2 separate regions of the Homo sapiens genome follow, and region 1 is linked to region 2. Evidence: promoter capture Hi-C in 16 types of primary human blood cells and fetal thymus (Javierre and others, 2016). All regions are on one chromosome and are shown on one strand. The core of a region is centred on a gene start or on the middle of the fragment in contact, and the rest is flanking DNA. Distances in the headings are between cores, read along the strand shown.

Region 1 (3,238 bases), core at 1-2,500, 730 kb before region 2:
AATCTAAAGAGTTGGAAGAATTTAATATTACACCAAAAGCCTTTTAATCCAGGAATGGCGCATACTAAGCAGTCATCAAATGGTGACTGTTATTAATATTATTCTTACCACAAGGAAAGCAGTGAATTTTTAAAAGTGCATATATTAGCATAGTAGGCTGAGGACCTATTTAACACATCTTTTTAAATTGCACTTAATTATCCTTAGTCGCCTTTGGACTGTAACTTTACAATATAATTTATGACCCGCCCACAATGACCTTGATTTTTTTTTCTCTTCTACTTTTAGAGACTGCTATATTGCAATATTTTAAAGTAATAATTGGTCATGTCCTCTCAGCCCTGGTGATACAGACATCCACCCTGACTCTCAAGGGATCTTAAAATGTGACCCACATATAGCTTGAAAAAGACCGTAACTTAAATGGACTCTGCAGTTACAATCCAGCGACCTGTTACAGTGAACAGTAACAAGTGCAAACTGCTGCCATCCATAAGCCATTTTCCGAAAACCTCTTTGGATCAAGAGGAGAGGAGTGAGAAGGTCAATAAAGGAGCAAACTGTTTGTCCTCTCTGCAGCTTCACACCAGAAGTCTGGAATGAATGAAAAGCTCTGGAATAGCACAGAGAAACCCGGGATCCCAGTGCAGGTCTCCAGACGGGGGTGCGGGGAGAGAAACTGTAGTTTACAAGCGAGAAACTCAGGATACAGATTTAAAATAAATAAATAAATAACTAGCCAACATCGTCTCGACTAGAGCAGGAACCCCCCACCCCCAGTTGAGGGAGGAGCACTTAGCAAGGGGCTGTAGCTCTAGCAGAAGACGCTCTGAAAAAGGCCAGGCCTGGGGCGGGGAGGCACCGAGAAACCCCCGGGTTCCAAACAGAGCAGGTGCAGGGGGCGTGCAGGAACAGGTGAGGGCGTCCCGGCGCGGAGGAGCGGCGGGCGGGCCCGGCAGAGCGGAGCGGGGGCCGGGGATGGGGGTGGGGGTGCGGATGGGGATGGGGGTGGGGGCGGCCGCTTCGCCCCCGCGCCTGCACACTCACCGTCGCCGCTGGCTCGCCTCTCGCTGCCGCCGCTCTCCCGACCGCCAGCAGCTCTTTCCCCTCCTCCTGCCGCGCCACCTCCGCCTCCTCCGGCGCCGCCGCCCAGGCCGGGCCGCTCTCCCCTTCCGCTTCCGGGAGCCTGAGGGCCTGGACCGGCCGAGTGGGTGTCCGCATGCCCGCGCGCCCGCGTGGGGAGGGACGACTGCCGCCGTCGCCGTCTCGCTTAGCTCCCGGGAGCCGCGATGGGAGCCGCTGAGGGCCGAAACTCCTGCAATCGCGCCGCAGCCCCAGAGCCGCGGACCCAGGCAGACCGCACTCTCCAGAGCGCTTGCACCTGGCGCGCCTGGGCGCCTCTGCCCCTCCCCAGCCCTACTTGAGCCGTCCTTCTCATTGTCCCCATATCCTCACTGCTCACCTCTCCCGAGAGACAGGATGGGGGCCTTAGCTTAAAAGATTGCATGTATCCTTTCTTCGGGGGATGTGGCCAGCAGGCCTCTCTCCCCGCAGGTGTTCTGGGATGTCCCATGGTACCTTGCTTCAAAGCGCGGTCTGCAGCATCAGCATCCTCTGGGAACTCACAATCTTTGAAATGCACAATTTCAGGCCTGCTGAATCAGTACATGCACTTCAGCAAGATCACCAGGTGACTCCTGGGGTGCACCGTAAAGATGGAAAAGCATTGCACTGTAGTGCATGGTCTCGTCCACTTCAGACCCTCTATTGGGTTGCCTCAGACATCCCAGGATATTTCCTGTTCCTGTCCTCAACCTAAATCCACACCCAAACAATCTTTTCTTATATTTTGGGAGACCTCCAAAAGTTTCCTGCTTTCCCATCCCTGCAAAAGCCGACAACTTTTGGACTCAGCGATGCAAGTAATCCACCTCTCAGTCTAACTTGGTATCTTCACCAAACACCAGAGATCTACTAACTTTCCCACCTCACTCCGGCTGAACAGTATTTGGGGAAGGTTAAACCGTTTGCAGTAATGTGGAGCTAGATCTTTCTGCCCACGTGCCACAGGAGGAGACAGTGTGTTGGTGGAAGAAATATTACCTGTTGTATAAAATCTGTATTCCTTATAAGATGTGCTTAAAAGCCCTCCACAGACACATCCCTACCTACCTCTCCAGTCTTAGCTCCAACTAATTTGGTTCATTTCCCCATTCTAGAATGCCCTGCTCTCTGATGATCTTAACCCTATCCAGATTTGAGAGTGGAAATCTTGCCAAACCAGAGTTCTCTCACCACTGCCCTTATATAGTGCACATTGTTGCCTGTTTGGGGCCTCATATTACCTTGTATTGCTAAGGATTTTTAAACATGTTGTGTCCTGGTTTCTGAACTAATTATAAACACCTTGTGACCTTAAAAACTTTGGTCAGTGGTTATCAAAGTGGGATCCCTAGACCAGCAGCATCGGTATCACCTGTCAACTTGTGAGAAATCCATATTCTTTTGCCCCATCCCAGATCTACTGTAGTAGAAACTGTTTAGGTGTAGCCCAGCAATCCGTGATGTAACAAGCCTTTTAGGTGATCCTAATACACACTCAAGTTTTAGAATTACTGACCTAGATTACTAGATATTCCCAAAAGAACCCAGTGGTAGGAATTGATTTACCCATAAGCAGATTTTATTGCCTTTCAGGTTAACAAATACACTCCCCGATATATGCATAGCGAGGTTGAAAGACTAGTCACGATTGCTTTTGATAGAATTACCTTTATTTTTCATAAATCATTTGATGTAGTAGGATTTTTGTAACTTTCTCTGTTTGAAAAGAAGGAGATATTTCATATAAACAATCACTTTGAAGGAAGAGGAAATGTGGAATCCTCCCACCGGAATCCAGCTACCTGATTGCGTATTCAATGTGAATCCCTTCTACCCAAATCCAGCTACCTGATTGCATATTAAATGTGGACTCCTCCCTACCCGAATCCAGCTACCAGAATTGCATATTAAATGTAAAATCCCCCCCCCACCCAAATCCAGCTACCCAATTGCATATTAAAAGTAGAATCCCCTCCACCTGAATCCAGCTACATGAATTGCATATTATTTTGCTTTCTCTTCAGATACCCCTGTGAGAGGGAATAATTTGTGACAAGTGATCTCAAAACTGCCAAAATAAGAATTAGTTGACAGGTCCATGATTGCACATGACAATTGGAAGTGCATGGATTTT
Region 2 (3,606 bases), core at 298-2,797:
TAAAAGGCCTTTAGGAAAGAAAGGAAAGCACGCTCGGAAGAGTCCCAAGCTGTCACTGAGGTCAACTGTGATATTGACCTCGATCCTAGGACTTTACAGGCTGGCTCCTTTCCCATGATTCTTCCCTTAGGGTGGGCTGCCTCCATGCGCAGTGCCCTCCTTACCCTTGGGAAGTGAGCACAGCGCAATATGTATGAAGTTGTATGCGTGCCCATCTGAGGCTTTCTTCCCTTTTCCGATAGAGTCCCCCTGAAAGGTCATACTCCCCGATTTTGTCTCTTAATGCATATGCCCAGGAAGTTGCTTCTCCCTGTCACCTGCATTCAACGAGCACTTTAGTGCAACAGGTGTGGGCCATCAGGAAATGGCCTCTCCCTGGCACCGGCTGCCAATTTATCACTTTTAGAGGCAATGTGATAAATGCCTAAGCATCACCCCACATTCCTAGTGGGTGAGGGAAGAGCCCTCTCCTGCCCTGCTCATGCCTAACTACCTGTAACAAACCTTGTAAACATTAAGCCAGCCACCAAAAGACCATATAATTCCGTTTATATTAAATGTCCAGATTAGTTAAATCTAGAGAGACAAAGTAGGTTCTTGGTTGGCTAGGGCTGGAGGAGTTGGGAGGATCAGGGGTGATAGCTAAAAAGTACAAGTTTCTTCTTTCGAGTGGTAAAAATGCTCTCAAATAGTGGTGATGGTTGCCCAAGCCTGTGAATATACCAAAAATCACTGAACACTTCAAATGGGTGAATTATATGGCATGTGATTACAGTCTAATAAATAAATAGTATGTCCTGCTGTATCCTTCAGGGCCTCTGAGAAATGGAGAGAGCTCCATCTGAAGCCAGACTGAGTTCCGATCCTGCTTCTATTTTCCCCGCAGGTAAATCCTTCCTCAACAGCAACACGGGGTGATACGCCCTATCCGGAAAGGTTGTTGTAATTTTTAAAAACATTAAAAACATACATTAGGGTTAATCATGTAGCGTGTGATACACAGACGCTCTGAAACACTACTGCACACGCACACCAACATGGGGCCTCTGCGGAGCTTGTGAAAGAACCAGATCTGGAGGGCTGGTCGTGTCCCTGGTCTCGGCCCTCGCCCTCCTTGTTTCTTAGGCTCTAAAGCAATCAGGCAGCAGAGCAGTCCTTGAACCCCAGTCAAGAAAAAGCCCTGCACCCCTTAGTCCGAAAGCCGCAAGGAACGGGGCCTAAGCGCCTGGCGAGGCCGCCCTACCGGGCAGAGACAGTTGCTACGTAACTCGGGGACCAGAAACCCAGCCCCACCCGCTGCGGTTAACCGACAGCCGCAACGGTTCCCGCACCGCCCGGGTCGGAGAACAATGCTGCGCCCTGCACGTAGAGCCTCGCGGTGCCGCGCCCTGGGGCGGGCCTGCCCATGGCCTGCCGGGAAATGTAGTTTCTGATGCCCTGCCCGCGCCGCCTCGCCGCTCGCCGGCCGGGCGCCCCAAGCAACTACAACTTCCATCACGCTCTGCGAGGCCTTGATCTGCAGGCTTTTGCAGGGGAAGGAGTGGGGCGAACATGGCTGAAGGAAGCCGAGGTGGCCCTACGTGTAGCGGGGTGGGTGGCAGGCAGGACCCAGTCTCCGGCAGTGGCGGCTGCAACTTTCCAGAGTATGAGCTTCCCGAGCTAAATACGCGCGCTTTCCATGTGGGCGCCTTTGGGGAGCTGTGGCGGGGCCGTCTGCGCGGGGCCGGGGACTTGTCGCTGAGGGAGCCGCCGGCATCCGCTCTGCCTGGGAGCCAGGCAGCTGACTCCGACCGGGAGGATGCCGCGGTGGCCAGGGATCTGGACTGCAGCCTGGAGGCGGCGGCTGAGCTGAGGGCGGTGTGCGGGTGAGTGCGGAGCAAAGGGGCTCTTGCAGCTTGGGGTCAAACAGGGTGCAGCCTTGCTCGTGCGCTCCTCTGGGACTCATCCCTGAGAAGGGCCTGTGGTTTAGACCTGGGCTAGGAGTATTACCCTTTAAAGCTTTCAACCCGCTGGAGCCTTCCTGGGACACCAGGAGAAGTCCTGGGACCCGAATGCACAGTTTCTACGAGTTGGAGCAAAGGGACAAGACAGCTGCATCAAAGACTAGTTTTTCCATTTGCTTATTCTAAGAGTGCTTGTTAATAAAGAAAAGCAATCAGGGCAACAGCGACGTGTACCTGCCATTGACAGACACTTTGACAATGGAGGAACCTGAGTAATGGTGAAGCTGCGGGAGACTTCATCAGAGGAGTGTTAAAACCCCGACTAACTGGTTTCTTTTGGGGACCTTCCGGGTATTCTGTTACTGAAATATTTCTTAAAAGTGCCTTATTTGGGGATGAAAATATAAAAATAACTTTAATCTCTTTCTCCATTTAACAGTACTGGCTGCCTTCATCGGCCTTTTCATTATAAAATATAATCACAGAAATCGTTGTCTTAAGTTCTGGCCTCTCTGAGCCGCCTGCTGGATTTTATCTGACTTCGTAATTCAGTAATGTATTTAGGAAAACAACCCTAACTCGCTGTGAACCAGATGCAGAGTCGACCTTAAAGTATTGCTTTTCCTTTTTGTTTTAGCCTTGATAAACTGAAATGCCTTGAGGACGGTGAGGATCCAGAAGTCATTCCGGAGAATACTGACCTGGTGACTTTGGGGTATGGAGGACTTGGTTTTTATGACCTATTTATTTAAACATTTTTTCAACATTATGTTTTGAAAAGTTGAAAGTGCAGTATTGATTGTTGTCTGTATACCCACCCCTTAAATTCAGCTGTTCTTAATATTTGACCATATTTACTTTAGCCGTGTGTATGGGATGCCTGCTGTGTGTTTTTTCATTTTGCTATCCCCCATTCAGTAAGTTAGACATGATAATTTACCCGTAAATACATAAGCATATAGCTTCTAAAAGTATCATTCTCCTACATAATTATTGTGGTATTATTATACCTAAGAAAACCGTAAATACATAATCTATAATATTCAGTCCATATTCAAACTTGTGTTTATTTTTTAATATTTTTGAATGTTTGTTTATAGAGGTAATCTACTTAGATCTGGGGGGCAACCTAAATACTCTGACAGTGTTTTTCAAACTATTTGTGGTAAAGGACAGTTCTTGTTTTTAAAAATTTTTAATCTTTGACAGATTTATGCTTTGATAAAATACTATAAAAAGAATTACTAGAAAAATGGAATTAAAAAAGACAAACACAATATAAGTTCAAATTTTTAATTAAATTCAATAGACAAAATTATTCAATGATAATGGAAGTTTCTAAATGCTTACTGTCATTTTCTGTACAGATTGGTTAACAAATAGGTCATAGATGAATTCTGGTCTGCCTACCACTCTTTGAGAGGCACTGTTGTATGATAATATAGAGAAATTGTGCATGTAATAGTGAAATTTATAATTTCCAATTTATAGTCCACTTATTTCATACTACCTCAGCTATGTTCTGTCGTTCTTGATCCTACGCTATTATCCCCCTCAAATATTCAGGCAGTCATTTCAACTCTACTTGGGTTTTCTTTCATAATAACTGCTAAATCTGTTCCCCTGGTCCCTACTGCTGACTTTTACAGCAGCAACACCTGGA

What was found. The method cuts DNA at HindIII sites, captures the fragments that hold promoters and counts their contacts. A CHiCAGO score of 5 or more calls a contact.
Region 1: a contact is called between the fragment with the promoter of ZDHHC21 here and the fragment with the promoter of SNAPC3 in region 2, in 4 of 17 cell types (naive B cells, total B cells, activated CD4 T cells and 1 more). The highest score is 9.7, in naive B cells.

What each region holds. Positions count from the first base shown.
Region 1 is chr9:14,692,182-14,695,419 of GRCh38, forward strand. It overlaps ZDHHC21 (zDHHC palmitoyltransferase 21), which reads right to left and starts at 1,251. Exons shown (of 10, transcript NM_178566.6): 1 at 1,048-1,251. RefSeq lists silencers at 893-1,032, 1,113-1,182 and an enhancer at 1,256-1,756. The HindIII fragment of the contact is 5,494 bases long and covers 1-3,238 here.
Region 2 is chr9:15,421,329-15,424,934 of GRCh38, forward strand. It overlaps SNAPC3 (small nuclear RNA activating complex polypeptide 3), which reads left to right and starts at 1,548. Exons shown (of 9, transcript NM_001039697.2): 1 at 1,548-1,865; 2 at 2,581-2,658. The coding sequence starts at 1,552. RefSeq lists a silencer at 1,275-1,564 and an enhancer at 1,905-2,024. The HindIII fragment of the contact is 2,004 bases long and covers 1-1,996 here.